Regions from separate parts of the Homo sapiens genome. Here regions 1, 2, 4, 5, 6 and 7 are each linked to region 3. Evidence: promoter capture Hi-C in 16 types of primary human blood cells and fetal thymus (Javierre and others, 2016). All regions are on one chromosome and are shown on one strand. The core of a region is centred on a gene start or on the middle of the fragment in contact, and the rest is flanking DNA. Distances in the headings are between cores, read along the strand shown.

Region 1 (2,700 bases), core at 103-2,602, 440 kb after region 3:
GTATCTTCCCCACTTGGCCTTCAAAAGTGCTGAGATTACAGGGGTGAGCCACCCCACCCTGCCTACTACTACTTTTTTTTTTGAGATGGAGTCTCACTCTGTCGCCCAGGCTGGAGTGCAGTGGCATGATCTAAGGTCACTGCAACCTCTGCCTCCTGGGTTCAAGTGATTCTCCTGCCTCAGCCTCCCGAGTAGCTGGGACTACAGACGCATGCCACCACACCCAGCTAATTTTTGTATTTTTTTAGTAGAGACGGGGTTTCACTGTGTTGGCCAGGCTGGTCTCGAACTCCTGACCCTGTGATCTGCCCAGCTCGGCCTCCCAAAATGCTGGGATTACAGGTGTGAGCCACCGTGCCTGGCACCTACTACTACTTTTATGCTCACTTGTGGATATATTCTTGCCTTTCTCTCTGAAGTGGGTAGGGGTAGAGTAAGGATATTTGTATCTCTTTGTTACAGATTGGAAGACTGAGACTCAGGTTTCGTAGTAACAGAGCTCGCTTCCATCTTCCCCTCCTCCCCTCAGACCACATGGCCTTGCTTTGATCCAAAGCCCTAACTTAAATCTTGCCCAGTAACTCCACTGAAAAAGCTTATATCACTCCTGTAATCCCAGCACTTTGGGAGGCCGAGGTGGGCAGATCATGAGGTCAAGAGATCGAGACCATCCTGGCCAACATGGTGAAACCCTGTCTCTACTGAAAATACAAAAATTAGCTGGGCGTGGTGGCATGTGTCTGTAGTCCCAGCTACTCAGGAGGCTGAGGCAGGAGAATCCCTTGAACCCAGGAGGCAGAGGTTGCAGTGAGCCAAGATCGCGCCACTGCACTCCACTCTGGTGACAGAGCGAGACTCCGTCTCAAAAAAATACACAACAACCCCCCCAAAAAAAAGCTTATAAGTTATAGCTCTCCAACCCCCACCATGCACACACTCCTTAATGGTAAAATTAAAAAGTTAGCTAGAAGTAAAATGCTCCATCACTCTCTGGACACACCTCAACCAAAACCTCAATATCAGACTAGAGAAACTGGGATATAGCTGGTGCAGGCACCTCGTGGAGTGGAAGAACTGCCACCTCCCATCCCCAAGGTATTCTGCCTCAATGTCTTCCCTCTTCTCAGTTGCTCAGCCCAGTGCTGGCTTTGAGAGCAGCTGCCCTTGATGAAACTCAACCCAGCAACCCCACCCCCACAATTAAAAGCTTGGAGCAGCCCTGTCAACTGGCAGAGCTGCCAGCCCAGGCTCCACCCCTTACCTGTCCTGTCACTGTGCAAGTTGCTTCCCCTACTGGGTTCCTGCTTCCTCCCTGTAAAATGGGGATAGTGATCTGAGTGTGCCCTGCCTTCCTCCCATGCAGGTGGGAAGATTAATGCTGTTGTGGAGGGGAGAGTACTTTGTGACCCCAAGGAGGCGGACAGCAGAGGAGCATGGTGATTTCAGTTACTAACCATCTAGCTAGATCCTGTCCACCCTGCTGGGGCCACTTCATGTAGAAGCTTCCAAAATGCTCTACCTTTCTTTGGTGTGGAGAAGACAGGAGTTGATAGGAATGGTACTCTGGGGCTTGTTCTCATTTCATTCTGATCTGATGGAGCCTTGGAATTCAGAGAGAGAAACAGGCAAGGGGTGGGAATAGAGTGTTGAGATTGCTGGAGTACATTGGAGTTGAGAATTGAGAAAGGGGGACTAGTTAGAGTCCCCCCAACCCAAGATACCTATACCTACCTTTAACCTCCCATAGTGCCCCAGGGTTCTGTGCATCTTATGTTTACATACCCGGGCTCCCAGACACACCCATGTTCACACCCCCACTTCGAAGCCAACAACTCCCTTCATTTCCGTGGACTGCCATGCAGTCACCTAGCTCCTCCTGGACACAGGTCCACACATCAACACACATTTACATACCTGGACACACACATTTCCACAGCACCCACAGGTTCTCTGGCCTGAGAACATTTAATGAGCATTTATAAAGCTTCCATGGTCTGCCGAGTCCTGTTCTAGGAACATCAGAAAAGCACCGTGGTGCCCTGAAAATCATTCTAGCTTTAGAAAGAAGGTGAGCTAGGTTTGAGTCCTAGGTCCCTCATTTTATTAGCAGTGTGACCTTGGGAAAGTTACTTAACCTCTGAGGCCCTGTGCCCCCACCCTAAAATGTCAGTGACACTCAATTCAGGATCGTCGAGGATTAAATGAAATCATGTAATATATTATTCTTGAAACTGAGGGCACTGGACAAATGGTACCCAATACAATTACTAAATTAGTGTGTTTTTAAAGGCAGCTTGGACTGGAAAAGGAAGAGGCATAACACACCAGCACACACTCCTTTAGTCTTCCTAATCCAGGCTTTGCAGAGACTCCCTGGGACCAAGTGAAACACATAAACAACTCCATCCTCCCCTCCATCTGAGGGCTTCTGCCTCTTGCCCTGTGGTTGAAGTGTTAGGAAGAGGCAGGAGAAACCCTCTGAGTCCCCCTGGGGGCTAAGGGATGCTGCTCCCGAAGTTGCAGTCACTGTTTCTAGTTTTGTTGTTCTCTTTGGTTTTCCTTTTTCTTCCCTGAGGACCTCCTCCCCTGCTCCACAGCCCGCCCCCGAGGCAGAGCTTCAGTGTTGTCAGCAGAAGGGTCCCCCAGGGACCCCCCAGTAAAATGGGTGGGGCAGTGCTGCATCTGTTGAGGCCACACTTC
Region 2 (2,700 bases), core at 68-2,567, 370 kb after region 3:
CCTCACTCAGGGCCAGCGTGAAGTGATTCAAAAACCAAACCAAAACTAAACAGAGAATCAGTGTAGCATTAAATCCGTTGTCAGCCCAGACAAAACCCTTCTCTGTGCCTGGGATTCCTATAAAGTAAGGATACCCGTGGACCCCACCTCACCTGGCTGTTGTGAGTATTCAGCGAAAGGGCTACTGTAATGTGCTCATCACAGTGTCTGGCACAAGGCAAGTGCTCAGTAAGCAGTCAGTGCTATTATTGCTGCTGTTGAAATCCTGCCCTGGGGTGTGAGGAACAAGAAGCTGCCACTTGATTGGTCTGTGGCATGAGTTAGGGAAAGAAACCTGGACTCCTCACTCCAGAATAATATCTCCAGCGCTTTGGGGACCTAAAGGACCAGGTAATGCCTTGGGAGCACCACACCATAAACACACATCAGGATCCTGACGGCATAAGATGGAATGGGGGTAGTAGGGAGACCTGGCAGGGTGGGGGCAGCCAAGGCTTAAATTTTGGTACCACTGCCTGGGACCCCTGGAGGGACAGCTGTCAGGTCAGGCCCTGACCCCCAAGCTCTCCTCCTTGGCCAGGCCAGGTCCACATTTGGTCACAAGAAGCTGGCAAGAGGCCAGACAGGGCCGCAGATGCCATGGAGAGGGCAAACACAGGCCCGACGGAAAGGGGGAAAAAATCGGGCTTGTTCTGCCTGGGCAAGAGCAGGCTCAGGGGTGACATCAACGCCATGATAAGCAGTTAGATGAGTTAATGCCCAGGGATGCTTTTCCTGAAGTTCCCCAGAGAAAGTTGGGGGTTAAATGATGAGTGTGTTGGCAGATTTGTACCCTCAAAAAATTACGAGTGTGACCACTGTTAACAATGAGCAGGGACTTTAAGAGGAGAACTAAGGAGCTGTCATTTCTCTCTGGAGAAGTGAAGGAGAAGAAATGATCTTACATTAAAGTAAACACGATTCCGGATGACCTAAGGGAGAATTCTGACTGCCCATGACATGAGCTCTCTGTGTGCAAGGAGCTGTGGACTGAGTCCAGAACTGAATAGGGCACACAGCTTCAGTGGCCTGTCCTGAAACCCCAGCACAGCCTCCAAGTTCTGGGCTTCTGTTCCCACCTGTGTTAAATCAGACAAGGTAACGATTATGGATAGGGATTTAGGAATCATACAGAGATCAGTTTGAAGGCACTTTGGACAAGTTACCTAACTTCTCTGTCCTTTGTTTCTTCCTCTGTTTGGAAGAAAAAAAAAAAACAGAACTGGGTGCAGAGGGTTGCTGGGAAGATTAATTCAGTGGATGCCAGCTTAGAGCCTGGCACCCAGGACGAGCTCCATAAATATTCTCCAGTGGGGCTATTTTTCTCCTGTCTGGGCAGGGATTGGACAGTATCTCTTGAGTTCTTTTCAAGTCTAGAATGCCTTGATTCCACAATCCTGTGACTCACTGATTCTGCTTCTGGGGTCTGAGGACTGGGATGAGTTGGTTGCACAGCTCTGCCCTGCAGGGCCCAGGCCCAGCACCTGGACATAGCCCAGCCTATAGTCTGCACCATTTTATTTCTACCAGTGGACTTTGCCTTGCCCATCATGTGCCCTCAGCCTCATGGGCAGCCTTGTGGCCACAGGTGGCCCTGCCAGCTGTCCCTGACCTCTGCTCTGCACCTTCACCTGGAGCAGGGCAGTGCAAGCCCCTCCGGCTAACTCCTTCCTCACACCTACATTCCCCTGACAATGTCACATGCTGTGCAAGTTGGCAGGGCCAGAGGGGCCACAGATGCCAACAAAAACACCATTCCTGTGGAGGGAGAAGAGCCCATGGGTGTTATTTTTAACCTGCTGATTAGAGGCCACAGCTCTGCCCCTGGGGGTCCTGGGACTAAGGGCTCTGAGGGGCATGTGAGTTGTCAGGCCTCACCTCAATGACTCCCAAGGGTATTGGGCTGCAGAAACCCCAGCCCTTCTACCACTTTGATGGAGAAGTGGGAAAGGGAGACACAGATCAAGACATGCCCCATCTTGCCCACTGGTTTCAACTGGGGCTGAACCCAGCCAGGAAGAGCAAATGTGCCACGAATCACAGAACATTAAACCTAGAGATGGGTCCTCTCCAGTCCCTGCGTTATACAGATAAGGAAACTGAGACCTGAGGGAGGAGGCCCAAAGTCACACTGCTGGTCAACACTAGCTTCCTACCCCCTTGCCCACCTGTTGTAGACCTGGAGTTTGACAAGGACATTTCTATAACTCTCCAAGGCCACATCCTGGGGGTCACCTTGCTCCACCCTCTGTCCAGGTGACCCATCTTGCCTCTGCCCTCTCCCCAGTCTGCCCTACCCCAATGGGCTGAGCTTCTGACAACCCCATGATGAGGGCTCCAGGCCCTGGCTCACCCTGCAAGGACTTCCTAAGTGCCCAAGCAGTGCCCCCTAGAGGCCAGTGGCAGCACTGATCAGCACAGCGGGCAGCGCCATCATGGCTGGAGGCCCAGGCGAAGACGTGCAGGCCAGGGCGTGCCTGTGTGGGGGGAACAGGACCGAGCTTCTGCCAAGGGCCCGCTGCCGGCTGTTGCTGAGCTTGTGCTCGCCAGAGGGGTGGGGGCGGCAGGCAGACAATGGACCCCACGGCCCAGCCTCCTGGCCTTGGCCCCTTGAGCTGGGCAGGCAGCCGCTGGCCAAAGCAGCCGCCTCCATTGGTCCCT
Region 3 (2,700 bases), core at 27-2,526:
TTTCATTTCTCCAAACTGGATTCCTTGTTTGCCACTCTATTGAAATTGCTGTTTGAAAGCTACAAAGAGACCTCTTCTGAGACAAATCCAATGGCCCCTTCATTAGGCCCTTTTTAGACTTTTCTGCTCCCTCTGACAACAATGATCACTCTTTTCCACTGGATACTTCTCAGCTTTCGTTAAAGGATATGCTGCCCAATACTATGCCAGATCCTCAAAAAACCCCACATCTCTTCTTTTGCACATCACTCATCCTTTCCTGCTTCCAGGAGTACACAAAGGAAGGCTATGTCCTAAAAGACCGTTTCACTCTCCGCCAGATTCCATCCTTTTGTGAGCCTGCTCAAGACACATCCTCTTTATGAAAACTTCCAACTGGGTTTGCCGTTTCCAGTAACTGAGTCTCCCTGTACTTCGTCACGTAAAAGGCTAACTTGCATTTATTGGAGTGTGTATATACATAATCTCATTAGAACCTAAGCTTTTCAGAAAAAGGGCTGTATTTTCTGTCTCCAGAATTCCTTCACAGCTTGAAGCATAGCACTTGGCATTCAGTAAACTCTCAGTTGATGCTCGAATCAGGCCGCTTTCCCAGATTAAGATTAATGAAAAGCTGAACTACCATCCTGCATTTGCCTATGTCTCAGCTATTCAATGGCCTTTCCACTTTGGCCTCCCCCTCACAGGGAGACTAGCGGCCCGGGGCAGAGAACGCCGCCATCAGATCACAGCATTTTGAGAAGGGAAAGTGGAAAGGGAGGCTCTGGGAGGGTACCCAGATGGCCTTCCTTCGTGATCCAGAGACTCTTTAATAAAAGAGACTGCGATTCGGAGAACATGGAAGGAAGAATTAACATGCAAACCCTTTCCGAAAACTTTTCTGAGCCCTAGGACAGGTTTAGTGTCTGCTCCTGCTAAGTAAGCAGGCTTTTCTCTCCGTCCTCCTCCGCCTTGTGAAGATACTCACAAGGGGCAGGAGATCAAGATAAGGCACCAGGGTGTGGAAGGGGCTTTTAAGCACGCCTGGGGAGCCGGTACCTCCAAAGTTTCAGAATCGGACGAAGGAAAGGTAGGAAGGAGCGCACCGGGGCTGGCGGAAGCAGTCTCTGCCGCTCTTCTTAATTTCAGGAGGTTGCTGGGACGCATGACTCACCTTCCCTGAACCCGCGAGCTGGAAGCCGAGACCAGCTGGTCGCTGCCGGGCCCGCTAGTAGCCCACGGAGAAGCCGCCCACAGCCGGACACCAGAGCCTTGAGGGCCGCCATCTTCAAAAACCTACCCTGACCTCTCGTCCATTTCCGCTTCCGGAACGTAGCGCCCGCCGCCGCAGTGGTGGGGCAGGAACGGCGGGGCGGGGTTGTAGTTCGCTTGCTCCTGTCACATCATTTCTCTCACCTGTCCGCTTTGGGATACGAAGAGAGGCTTCTGCGTCAAGCCTATATTTCGTGTTAAGGATCTAGGGGAGGTCTTCTAGCTCCTGTCTGCCAATGCCTACAAGTCTTCAAGGTTGCATTCGTTTCCTGGAAGGCTTCCTTAGGAAAATCGCACGCAACACCCCACCTATGTCTTTAAAGCTTTCTCTTCACTGCACGTGAGCTGTGGACTTTTAGCTTCTGTGACTGGGGCTAGACCTCTACGGGAGAGGCTGAAATGGTTAGGAACTCTGGCTCTGGAGTATCGGATATCAGGCAGACCTGGGATAGAATTGATACCCCCTTCTTCCCTGACCACTGCCACACTGATCTTTGATTTGCATATACTTAGACCTCTCTCTAGCCCCAGGGCCTTGATACAAGCTATTTCCTTTGTCTGCTCTTTAGCTGTCTAGTTAGCTTCTGCTTATTTCTTAGAGCTCACCTCAAACCTTATTTCCACAGTTTTGCTTGACTGCCCATTCTCAGCACCAGATGCCTCTCCATCTTAGTGCTTGGGACAATTTCAGTTTTATGTTTGTTTTGTATGTGTCTTCTCACCAGACTGTAAGCTCCATGAAGTCAGGAACATTGTTTTCTGTTGACTCGCACATCTCCAGCACTTAGAATAGTTCCTGACACATAATAAGAGTACAATATATACTTGTTGAATGAATGAGTAGAATCTATTTTATAGGGCCTAGGGGAGGACTAGACCCTGAAGATTAGATGTGATAAAACATAAGTGATCGGCCGGGTGTGGTGGCTCATGCCTGTAATCCCAGCACTTTGGGAGGCTGAGGCGGGTGGATTACCTGAGGTCAGGAGTTCAAGACCAGCCTGACCAACATGGTGAAACCCTATCTACTAAAAATACAAAAATTAGGTGGGTGTGGTGGCGGGCACCTGTAATCCCAGACACTTGGGAGGCTGAGGCAGGAGAATCGCTTGAACCCAGGAGGCGGAGGTTGCAGTGAGCCAAGATCACACCATTGCACTCCAGCCTGGGCGACAAGAGTGAAACTCCGTCTCAAAAACAAAACAAAACAAAACAAAACAAAACAAAAGGGCTCAATAAACATAAGCTAGTTAATAGAGCAGTTATGGAGATGACTCTTTTCACAAGTTGGACTCACTTGTGTTGTAAGGAAGCTTATGGTACCAAAGAGAAAATACAACTGCCAGTTTTTCCTCTTTCAGATTTGTGAGACGTATAGGATGTTCCTCTGGAGCTCCACAGGAAAGGAAAATCATTCACAACTCAGTTCTTCCTATCCTTCTCTGATTC
Region 4 (2,700 bases), core at 88-2,587, 340 kb after region 3:
GAGTAAGACTCATGCCAGGGCACTTAACAGGATCCACCAGTGGCACCTACTTTTCCACAGGAAGCCACACAAGTCAAGAATCCACCATGATTTTGCAAGATGGCTCCAGGGAAAGCCCTCCTGGGTTGTGCCTCAAATGCCCAAAGGGCTCCTCATTCTGCCATGCACCCCACCTCATTCTGAAGGCCTAGCCCTCATTGTGTGTGCACATCCAACCTCCAGGGCCCATCTTGCCTCTTTCTATCCAAGTCCCTGCCTTTAGTGCCTGCCCAGGGTCCTGGATCCCCCAAGGCTGGGACCCGCCTTGCTCTTGCCTTTCTTGTCAGAAGCTGTACTTCTGTCCTTAGCCCCAGTCTGATGGCAGGAGACCCTTCCTGCTGACCAGTCTTCCCACTATATTCCCAGTCTCCCATGGCTGGGAAATAGGGTTGGCTTCAGTTGTCCCTACTGGGATGCACCAAAAGTAGCAGGAAAAGATTCAAGAACCCTTTAATGCTCACAGCTTCGTCAGCATCCAGACGTCGTTCAGTCCCCTGCCTCCAGAGCAGGGTGTCCACCACTCACTCTTGCTGGCCTCCTGTCAATGGCTGACCATGCTCTTCTCACTTTGCCTAAAACTCAGTTTACCCCCACACCTGTCTATATGCTCTATTTTCTCTCCTGATGAAAGAGCGGAGAATGTGTCTATACTCACTCAGGTATACAACACAGTTACAAAACCACCTTCCTTCCTCTTAAATGACTGCATTAATTAAAGGTTTGTAGGCCTGGAAGATGCTAAGGTTCTAGGTCAAGGAATTTCCTCTTCTGTGCTCCTAGAGCTGACAGTTGTAAGGAAAGGAAGGGCAGCTCAGGGAGGACATCTAAAGGGCTCTCTTGTCTCCTGGTTACCTGGCCTCAGCACATCGCCCACACCCTCTGCCACTTCAATCCCTGCCCAGAGGGGACAGAGGGGACACTGGAAAATCCCCTCCCTCCCTCCCTCTAACCCTCTCCTCTCTCCAACAAGCCCTGGGCACAGCAATGTTCACCCAAGAGTGATGCTGAAGTCAGCCAGGTTCCTAAGAAAGGGTCATGGCCAGAGGACTTCGAAACTGCTTCAAGAAATGGAGGGAGGGTGCGGTGACTTCATATGTTTAGGACCAAAGAACAGTCCTAGGGATGCTGGAGGAGATAGGGGGGAGGACGTGGTCACTGCTTTCAGAAGCTGCTGCATGAAGGCTGCATGCTGCAAATGTTAAGAAATAGCCATGCCAGGCTGACATCTTCCTGACCTCCTGCCACCTTCAGGGCTCTCCTTTAGCCTCCCTGTCCTAGTGTAAGAGTAGCCACCTGTGCCTGCATTGAGTCCACTAGCCTGGGAGAGGCCCAAAGTTCTGGATCATGCCTCCCTCAAAAGACTGGGGCTCAAGATAGTCCTGAGGGTGACAGAGGTGCAGGGCTTCCTCAGGGGGCAAGCAGAAGAGTCCTGGTTTTCTTCCAAGGACCCCTGCCCCCTGCTGTTCAGTCCTCTCCAGCCCCCAGGGCTTCTCAACCCCCTGCTCGTCTCCACATACTCTGTCAGCCTTAAGGAGGCTCTTGTGGATCCTCATTCCTTCGGGACAGGAGGCCAACAGCTATGTCCTGAGCCTCAGCTCTTCCCTGGCCATGCCCCCGCCTCACACCTCCAGCCCTGATTTTGTGCCTCTGCTTCCAAGGGAGGAAGATGAACGACGGAGGAAGTTCTGAGCTAAGGAAGGGAGTATTGATGAAAGTTGTGTTGACAAAAGAATGTGTCAAGACTAAGTATGATTCTTTCCAGAAGTACAAGAAAGCCAAATTCTGGGAAACTCAACATAACCTACTATATTAGCATGTAAAATAGATTAATTTTCCCAACATGTTTAATGGGGAGACTCTAAAAGCAGTCCCGTTAAAGTTGACGTCAGCTCTCCCCATAAACTATCACCATTAGTATTTAATATTGTTCTGCAATTACTTGACAATGCAGTTAGATGAAAAATAAAATAAGAGGTATAAATATTGTAAAAAGAAAGCAGTTATTATCATTGGATGATATTACTCTATACTTGGATATTCCAAGAGAATCAGCTAAAGAACTTTTAGTAATATCAGGAATTTATCAAAGTGGCTAGTTTAAAAACAAGATTTCCTAAATACAAGAAATAACTAATAAAAGAATATGGAAAAACATCCCATTAATAAGGTTAACAAAAACCTAACATAAAACACATAGAAAAAATGTGCAGATACATGGAAATAGCTGTAAAAGCTAAATGAGGGACATACACATAGACTTGAATCGATGGAGAAAGACCTTTTCCTTGGATAAAAAGTCAGTAATATTGTAAGCATGTCAGTGTCACCATAATTAAACTATAAATTCAGCATACTTCTGTACAAAATATCAGCTGCTTTTGGGGGATAATTTGACAAAATGATTACATACAAATTCCTCTGGAAAAATAAATATAAATGAATAGAACATTCCTGGAAGGAAAAATAAGTAAACTAACAAGGAAAGAGTAGCACTATAAAACATTTTTCAAAAATAGTATACAGCTACAATAATTAAAATAGTGTGGGACTGGTGCCTGCATACAGATCAATTGGAAAGAATAAAACAATTTTAAATAGGCCCAAATAAACATGAGAATTCAATTCAATAAATTGAGATACTAGTCAGATATTTGGATCAAA
Region 5 (2,700 bases), core at 201-2,700, 470 kb after region 3:
GCAGAAGATACGGATAAGAGCTAAAGTTATGGCCGGGCACGGTGGCTTATGCCTATAATCCTAGCGCTTTGGGAGGCCGAAGCGAGTGATCACCTGAGGTCAGGAGTTCGAGACCAGCCTGCCCAACATGGCGAAACCCCGTCTCTACTAAAAATACAAAAATTAGCTGGGCATGGTGGTGGGCACCTGTAATCCCAGCTACTTGAGAGGCTGAGGCAGGAGAATCGCTTGAACCCGGGGGGCAGAGGTTGCAGTGAGCTGAGATTGCACCACTTCACTCCAGCCTGGGCAAAAGAGCGAGACTCCATCTCAAAAAAAAAAAAAAAAAAAAAAATCTGAAGTTATTAGTTTAAATCCTGGCTCGACCGCTTAACAGCTGTGTGACCCTGGGCAAGTTGCATCATACCTCTAGACCTCACTTTCCTCATCTATAAAATGGGAATAGCAATGTCATGGCCTCTGGCTGTTTTAAGGATTAAATAAGTAGGAAGTTCTTAGCCCAGTGTTTGGCACATAATAACAAACCATAATTAATATTCTCGTAGATGAGGAGATTGAGTCCCAGAAAGGAGAAAGGGGGAGGGCTCGCCCAAGGTCAGCTCCTGTTTCAGAGCTTGGAACAAGGTTCTCTGATCCCATTGGGTGCTCTCACACCTGTTCTGTGCCTGATTAGCACCAGGCAGGGCTGAGGGGCACTGGGATGACCTTGACAGTCCCTGTCCTCAGCCATCATACACTCCAGAGAAGACTGCACTCTGGAGCAGAGTTCTTAGCTCAAAGCATTCCCACTTTCCAGTGCAGAGGCAGGACATGTGGTCAGACCAGTGGCCTAACCTTGCCAGACTGGGGCTAGGCAAGGAGAGTGTTGCAGGTGGAATCGTGTCCCCCAAAAAGGCATGTTGAAGTCCTGGCCCCCAGTACTTCAGAATGTGACCTCATTTGGAAACAGGGTGGTTGCAGATGTAATTCGTTCAATTAAGATGAGGTCATACTGAAATGCATGGGACCCTAGCCCCATATGACTGGTGTCCTTATAAGAAGAAGAGACACAGAGGAGGGTGCCATGTGAAGACAGCAACACAGGAAAAATGCCATGTCAGTGAGAAAGGGGCTTTTGGGAATGAGAAGGCTTTCTGGATGTAAAGGTCAGGTTGGTGTGTCAGGGACAACCCCTTCCTGGAAACCTTGGGCTGAAAAAAAGGGACTGGGACCTACCCTGATGGGATGACCGTGATACAGTGAGGACAGCCAGGCTGGTGGAGGCTGTGCAAGGCAGGGGTGCTGGGTCATCTGTCCCTAAAGCGGGTAGCCCTCAGCTGGGTAAGGGGCTGGGTTACTGAGAAGGAGAAAAGGGAAGGCAGCTGTTAAACCGGCTGCTGACCTAGGAATCCCACTGCAATGAGAGAGTTCTGGGGGGAGGGTCTCTTCTCCCCCTCCCACCAGAACCTTCAACTGTCAAGCACCGAGCTAGCCACCAGCATGCTGTACTCCCCAGGTAGGCACTCATGGGGCCTTGCCCCACTCCTGTACCTCCTGCAGGCTAGAGCCTCCCCCCAGGGGAGGAGCTGTGTCCCGCATCAGACTGGGTGCCCCTTGAGGGTACAGAGAGTGACTCTTCCATCAGACTGGATGCCCCTTGAGGGTACAGAGAGTGACTCTTCCATCAGACTGGATGCTCCCTAAGGACAGGACCTGGGCCTCGTTCTCAGACTGTTTGGGGAAGGATAGGCCACTGGTGGTCAGACTGGGTGGTAGGCCGGGCAGGAACTCTTTCTCCTCTCCACTGACAGTTGGAGTTGGGGAGAGGAGAGGGGCCGGCCATCCCACTGTCATGGCTGCTGGGGAAAAGGGTTTGTGTGAAAAAGCCCACGTAGAGAAGAAAACTTTAGGGAACAGAGAGAACCTCTCCTAAGCCTAGAAAAGCAGGTCCCTCAGCCCAGGAAGATGAGATCCTCAGGGTGGCAGGGGCAGGACTACCTGAGGCAAGCCTGGGACCAGACTCCAGGAGATGGGGGAGAGTGGGCTGGGGGGAAGGGGAGGGCTGGGCAGAACTGAGTTGTTCCTGTGGGGCTAGGGTGCACAGAGGGCAGCCAGCCTTGGCCAGCAGAAGGTCAGCCCTGTACCTCACCCTCAGCCTGGGGCACCGTGAGACCATGGGCCCCTAGACCCAGCCTCCCAGCTTCTCAGGCCCTCCCTGTTTACCTGACCCTAGGAAGTTTAGGCCTAGCTGGTGACCCCAAACCCAGTCCTTGTTCTTCAGAAGTGCCCTGAGCCCAGGAGTTCAAGACCAGCCTGGTCAGCATAGCAAGACCTCATCTCAAAATATAATTTATTTATTTATTATTATTACTTATTAGTATTTATTTTTTTTTAAAGTTCCCTGACACAACATCTTAGTTTTTTCCCAGTGCCGGAAATCAAACTGTCCTTAAATCTATAGTCCCCTAATAACAATGTATTGCATTTAGAAAATCACTGAGAGAGGCCAGGCACAGTGGTTCACGCCTGTAATCCTAGCACTCTGGGAGGCCAAGGCAGGTGGATCATCTGAGGTCAGGAGTTCGAGACCAGCCTGGCCAACATAGTGAAACCGTGTCTCTACTAAAATACAAAAATTAGCCATGCGTGGTGGCGGGCGCCTGTAATCCCAGCTACTCGGGAGGCTGAGGCAGGAGAATCTCTTGAACCCAGCAAGTGGAG
Region 6 (2,700 bases), core at 155-2,654, 410 kb after region 3:
GCAGGAGGTTGAGACACCTTGAACCCGGCGTATGGAGGCAGAAGTGAGCTGAGATTGCACCACTGCACTCCAGCCTGGGTGACAGAGTGAGACCCTGTCTTAAAAAAAAAAAAAAACAAAAAACCCACAATAATGTGTGAGGTATATCACTCTTCAACAGGCTTTTTTCCATTCAACAATATGTCTTGGAGAGCTACATCTATCTATACCTACACCATCCTTTCTTGGAACAGTTGTGTGCTACTCCATGGCACACATGGACTTTGCTTATTTACCCAGGCCCCTACTGATGGCTATTCAGATTGTTTCCAATTCTATTAAAAACAGGCTGAAACGAGTATGTACAGACCTCTCTGGGCACTGTGGTATGTGCTCTGTGCAGGGCATGGACAGTCATCTCTTCTCATCTGTCACATTGTTAGCAAACACCTCTCACAGGGGTTCTCAACTTGGGAACCACTGGAGGTTTCAGGGGGACCTCAAATCCCTGAAATTGTACCCAGAGTAACCTATGTATGCCTCTGCATATATGCACTATCTGGGGAAAGGGTCCACAACCCTTAGCAAGTTTCAGGTTTTCGAAGGGCCCATAAAAGCTAAGAAGTACCGACCTGTATTAACTTTCATACCTTTATGTTCTGGCTCATATACGATGTTATGTGCTCAAAAGGACAAGCTGGGCAACATAAAGCCTCTTCTCCCCCTTGTTCTGCCAACAAGGATTCCATCTAGTGCTGAAAGAAAGGACCTCTGGAGTCAGACCCAGGCCTAAATCCTGGCTCCATCCATTACTATGCAATTTGGGGCAATTAATTAACAACCAAGCTTCAGTGTCCACAACACAAACTGAGGTGAGTAAAACCTGCTTCATAGAGTTGTTGTAAGGAGTAAACAAAATCCCTTGCGCCAAGCATCTAGCAGGCACAGTAGGTACTGCTATGCACCTGTGCCCTTGGTTTCCTTAAGTTCTGGCCAAGAGCTTTAGGCAACTGGGACCTTCTCAAGGGCAGGGACAAAGGCTCACCCAGAGTCTGCAACCCCCTTGAGCTCTGAGCCTAAATCTGTCATGGACAAATTAGGAGTGAATACACTGAGAAGAGTCCTTGTCCAGGCTCTCCAGGTCATACCACAGCAGTGCCACTAGGAGGCTGCAGGACAGGCCCTGGGACTGGAGAGACTCTGCAGGAGCAGCTCTGACTAAAATAGTGTGTGCATGCAAGTGTGCATGTGTTGTGTGCTCATATATGTTAAGTGTGTGAATGAGTATGCATGTCTGAGTATGAGCCTGTGTCTGAGTGTGTATGTGTTGGCATGTGTATGTGTGTACACGTGGGTTGGGAGAGGCAGAAACCAAAGGGAAGACAGGGTTTCCAGAGAGGCAGCAGCAGCCCTGGCTTCTCCCCTTGAGTGTCCAGGCTGCTGGAACAAATATTCCATTACCTACTGTGTGTTAAGCACTGCTCCTGTCCTTGAACTCACAGGAAGACAAAAACAAGACAGTTAGGTTCAAGCAATATTTCCAGGTGCCAGCATTGTTCTAGGCACTGGGGATACAAAAAGACACATTCCTTGCCCTCCACCAAGGTCAGACACGACACACCCCTGGAGTCGGTGGCACTTCAGTGAGTAGAGCCCTGTACAGGGCACCCAGGAAGAGCTGTGCTCAAGACCAGAAATCGTGGAGAAAGGCATAGTTGACCCTGTCCTGGGCAGCAAACCCTTTGAGAGGGGCCACATCCCCTACCCTGCCCTGCAGACTCAGACCCAAAATATCTCCAGCCACCTTCTCTCCTCCCTCACTTGGCCACCAAGCAATGCTGGACAGAACTCTTCTCTGTCGGGGGAGATCACGGGGCGTAGCGCCCTCAGTACACTGATAACCCTTTCTCCATCCTCACCTTCCCTCTGGCAGCTGGCCCCACCTTTCCCCTCCCACCCTTCCCCTCACTCCCAGTAGACAACCCCCCTTTCCCAACTAACATACAAGCTTACCTCTCTGAGCACCCAGTCCCCCCACCACGCTCAGGGAATGAGGTGCCCTTTCACTTGCTCAGATTCTCCTGCTTCCTGCTCTGCTGGGGTCTCCTTCTATCAGTCACCACTGACCCCCACCCCGACTTCCACTCACAAACAACCACCAACTATGGTGCAGTGGCACTGCAGCGCGGTTAGGCAGCCCAGCGTCACCGTTTCCCAGGCCTGGGACCTTAGACAAGTTACCCCACCTCTCTGAGCTTTGGTTCCTGTGCCTGTAGCACAGGGCGAAACCCAGTGATGCTGACAGAACCTACCTCATGAGGCCGCTGGGAAGATAAGATTATACTGGGCACATAAAATGCTTAGGACTGGGCTAGGAAGTGTTTAGTGAATGTGATCACTGCTGCTGTAAGCCCCTGACAGCACCCACAGTATCTGAAGGGCACAAAGCCTCTAGTAGATGGTCAGAAATAGAGTCCAGGGATGGCATCAAATAGTTGTTTACTTTCCCCATCAAATCAACCTTCGTCCAAGTCAGATAAGCCCCAGGGGTCCCCCCAGGGGTCTCCATGCAGAGCCTAGGCTCTCCATCAGGCAGCCTGATCCCAATTCCCTGGGTCTGGGCGTCACCGGACAGCCTTCAGGGTAAAATGCAGATCATACTAGTGGGCCTTCTCTTGATGATATTGATCTCTTAGTAACTTACTGTGCCAACATATTCTT
Region 7 (2,700 bases), core at 77-2,576, 390 kb after region 3:
AGAATGGGTCCTCTAGGAGTTCCCCATCTTCAGACTTCCCAGCCCTCTAGAGGTCAGCTCCCCAGGGCTCCCCTCTGTCCTAAGGGCTCTCCAGATAAACTTTTTTTTTTTTTTGAGACGGAGTCTCGCTCTGTTGCCCAGGCTGGAGTGCAGTAGCGCAATCTCAGCTCACTGCAAGCTCCGCCTCCCGGGTTCACGCCATTCTCCTCCCTCAGCCTCCTGAGTAGCTGAGACTACAGGTGCCTGCCACCACACGTGGCTAATTTTTTTTGTTTTTTTTTAGTAGAGGCGGGGTCTCACCGTGTTAGCCAGGATGGTCTCAATCTCTTGACCTCATGATCCGCCTGCCTCAGCCTTCCAAAGTGCTGGGATTACAGGCGTGAGCCACCGCACCCGGCCCAGAGAAACTATCTTAGCTTGTCTACCCAGACCCACAAGAAGCTGCCTCCCAACCACCCAAGGGGACACAGGCCCATCAACCCTTTCCAGAGGGGGCACAGTAGGCTTGAGACTCTTGAGTCTCTGACCCCCAGCCTGGCCTCTGGGGTGGGGGGAGAGAAAGTCATAGGGAGCTTAACCTCAACAGGATGAAGGCGCCATAATTAGGGTCAGGCGGTTGGCTCAGCCTGCGGAAATCCCCAGCTTAGTAGGGATGGGGAGTGGCACTGCAGCCTGCGGGAGGGTTCAGGGCAGAAGTGAGGGGGCAGGGGGAGCCCAGGCACATGGAAACCCAGGACCTAGGCCCCAATTGCATCCTGAGAGGGCCCACTGGGGGCTTCTCAACACAGTTCACTCCCTCCCTGGGGTTGCTGAACCCCAGGGAGGGAGGGAAAGGCTGACCAGCCCCCCAACCCCAGAGACCCTACTGCTCCCTCAGGCTGGGGTGCATCAGGATCATCCCCCTACCCCAGCCTTTGTCAGGAGGAGGAGGGCACCGGTGGGAAAAGGCTACGTGAGTGTTCCCAGGGCGACCCAGGCTTTTCTCCTGACTGTAATCCTCAGGCCTTGAGAGAGGGATCGCTTTCCACTGTGGAATGTAACAAAGGGGACAAAATGGGGCAGGGGAGGGGGGCAGAAGCCAGGGAGGGAAGCTTGCAGGGTGGTACTTTTAGCCCCCAAAAGGCCCTCCAGGAGGCAGCTGCACAGAGAGAACCCCCCTGCCCCCATGACTCCCTGAGCCTGTCATCCAGCTCACCCCAGGGCACAGGGTCTCATCCTGGGTTGTCCAGGTGTCCCCCCGCAGACTCCTGCCATGAATCCCAGTGCAGGGGGATTTGGATGATCACCTTTGCCAGCCACTCATTTTGCAGGGGAGGAAATATTCCAAGAGATGAAAACTAGCCAAGACCACGCAGCACCAGAACCACTCCCAGAAGCCCCGGCTTCCCCAGAGACTGCTTCAGTGAGCCGGCAAAAACTGAAGCCTGCAGCCTCAGGAGTTCCCACACACACCTAGGCCAGAATCCCTCTGCCCCGCAGCAGGACACCCCTCCCTCTTGCCCTCCAGGGTCATGGGCTAGACATGGCAAGGTAAGCAGAAGGCAGATGCATACTAGTCCACACAAGCTTGTGACGGCTGGGACTAGGGGCCAACCTAGTGGCTCCCACGTTGAGAATCAACGCCAATTCCAGGAAGCCTTCCCGGCTAACCCCCAAAAAGCTGGCAATACTTCCCTCCCACAACACAGCCTTGGCTCTCGAAGGCTGTCCTCTCCCCCAGCCTCACTCTGACTCATCATGTAGGTCCCGCATGGGCCTCAGTTCTCCTGGCCATGGGCTCTCCCCATACCTTAACCTGGGAACCGTTGTGGGCAGGACCATGTGGGACAAAAAGGTCCTGTGCCCAACCCAGCACCAATCACAGGGAGGCCTGGGGATAAGCAGGGGCTCTTGGAAAGGGGGCAGAACTCAGCTCAAGTCACAGAACCTGGGAAGGACCTTCAGTGGAAAGCCGCTTCAAATGTCATCTGGGATGAGCATGGTGGCTCACACCTGTCGTCTCAACACTTTGGTGAAACTGAGGCTGGAGGATTGCTCAAGGCCAGGAGTCGAAGACCAGCCTGGGCAACATAGCAAAACCTTGTCTCTCTGTGTATTTTTTTAATATTAAAAAAAAAAAATTTAAGGTCATCTGGTCCAGTCCCTCGTGCCTCCCAGTTGGGAGGCACTGAACTTCTCAACACTGCAGAAACAGGCATCTCTTCATATATTTAGTCATTCAGTCATCCATCCAATGAACCTTGCCCAACTATCTTCTACATCTCCGCAGCCCAGGCAACCCAATCCATTCTCAAGGCACAGACTAAATCCTTACCAAATAGAGTCAAGGGTCCATCCATTTCCTCTCCTGGGCCTAACATGGTGCTAAGTGGAAGTAAAAGGTGCTGATCAGCAACGGCCACCCACTTTTATGTTGCACGGTGGCATTCTCACCTGGCTTGCACATCACCAGGTGATGTTCATTTCAGACTCAGCCACCATTCCAGACAGGTTGTCCCTCACTGGCAGATGGGAAGCTGAGGCTGAGCAGGTGAAATGGTCTTGCAGCTGGAAGAAAGGTAGGGCCAGGACTTGGCCCAGGCAGCTAAGCTCCCAGCCCCAGATTCATTTTACACACCCACTCCCAGCCCTCCACCAGCTTGGGTTTCATGTGGAAACAGGATTTCCCCCGGGGGAATGAAAATTTGATTTTGGCCCCTA

What was found. Contacts are between HindIII fragments. The CHiCAGO score rates a contact against its expected background, and 5 or more counts as called.
Region 1: a contact is called between a fragment that was not itself captured here and the fragment with the promoter of MRPS18A in region 3, in 4 of 17 cell types (erythroblasts, non-activated CD4 T cells, total CD8 T cells and 1 more). The highest score is 6.9, in erythroblasts.
Region 2: a fragment that was not itself captured here is called in contact with the fragment with the promoter of MRPS18A in region 3 in 16 of 17 cell types (erythroblasts, monocytes, neutrophils and 13 more); the score reaches 16.7 in erythroblasts.
Region 4: a fragment that was not itself captured here is called in contact with the fragment with the promoter of MRPS18A in region 3 in 5 of 17 cell types (erythroblasts, monocytes, endothelial precursors and 2 more); the score reaches 12.9 in erythroblasts.
Region 5: a contact is called between the fragment with the promoter of CAPN11 here and the fragment with the promoter of MRPS18A in region 3, in 2 of 17 cell types (erythroblasts and endothelial precursors). The highest score is 5.6, in erythroblasts.
Region 6: a contact is called between a fragment that was not itself captured here and the fragment with the promoter of MRPS18A in region 3, in 10 of 17 cell types (erythroblasts, neutrophils, monocytes and 7 more). The highest score is 9.6, in erythroblasts.
Region 7: a fragment that was not itself captured here is called in contact with the fragment with the promoter of MRPS18A in region 3 in 17 of 17 cell types (erythroblasts, monocytes, megakaryocytes and 14 more); the score reaches 16.3 in erythroblasts.

What each region holds. Positions count from the first base shown.
Region 1 is chr6:44,130,854-44,133,553 of GRCh38, forward strand. All of the region lies in intron 1 of TMEM63B (transmembrane protein 63B), which reads left to right. Among named protein-coding and RNA genes, the nearest start is that of TMEM63B, 4.6 kb to the left of the region's middle. RefSeq lists a silencer at 308-467 and enhancers at 2,312-2,700, 2,700. The HindIII fragment of the contact is 295 bases long and covers 1,206-1,500 here.
Region 2 is chr6:44,060,553-44,063,252 of GRCh38, forward strand. The region is part of intron 1 of SCIRT (stem cell inhibitory RNA transcript); the gene reads right to left. Among named protein-coding and RNA genes, the nearest start is that of SCIRT, 13 kb to the right of the region's middle. RefSeq lists an enhancer at 2,169-2,700 and a silencer at 2,315-2,384. The HindIII fragment of the contact is 3,500 bases long and covers 1-2,700 here.
Region 3 is chr6:43,686,515-43,689,214 of GRCh38, forward strand. MRPS18A (mitochondrial ribosomal protein S18A) reads right to left here and starts at 1,277. Exons shown (of 6, transcript NM_018135.4): 1 at 1,154-1,277. The coding sequence starts at 1,265. LOC124901320 (a long non-coding RNA gene) reads left to right here and starts at 2,448. Exons shown (of 2, transcript XR_007059586.1): 1 at 2,448-2,700. RefSeq lists enhancers at 1,031-1,090, 1,036-1,647. The HindIII fragment of the contact is 1,093 bases long and covers 480-1,572 here.
Region 4 is chr6:44,029,713-44,032,412 of GRCh38, forward strand. The region is part of intron 1 of SCIRT (stem cell inhibitory RNA transcript); the gene reads right to left. Among named protein-coding and RNA genes, the nearest start is that of LINC03040, 30 kb to the left of the region's middle. The HindIII fragment of the contact is 6,000 bases long and covers 1-2,700 here.
Region 5 is chr6:44,157,370-44,160,069 of GRCh38, forward strand. CAPN11 (calpain 11) reads left to right here and starts at 1,451. Exons shown (of 23, transcript NM_007058.4): 1 at 1,451-1,495. The coding sequence starts at 1,480. It overlaps LOC107986599 (a long non-coding RNA gene), which reads right to left and starts at 1,234. Exons shown (of 3, transcript XR_002956350.2): 1 at 1,216-1,234. RefSeq lists an enhancer at 2,628-2,700. The HindIII fragment of the contact is 9,288 bases long and covers 1-2,700 here.
Region 6 is chr6:44,099,106-44,101,805 of GRCh38, forward strand. No RefSeq gene overlaps it. Among named protein-coding and RNA genes, the nearest start is that of SCIRT, 26 kb to the left of the region's middle. RefSeq lists an enhancer at 1-101 and a silencer at 1,007-1,301. The HindIII fragment of the contact is 1,162 bases long and covers 824-1,985 here.
Region 7 is chr6:44,080,126-44,082,825 of GRCh38, forward strand. No RefSeq gene overlaps it. Among named protein-coding and RNA genes, the nearest start is that of SCIRT, 6.8 kb to the left of the region's middle. The HindIII fragment of the contact is 475 bases long and covers 1,090-1,564 here.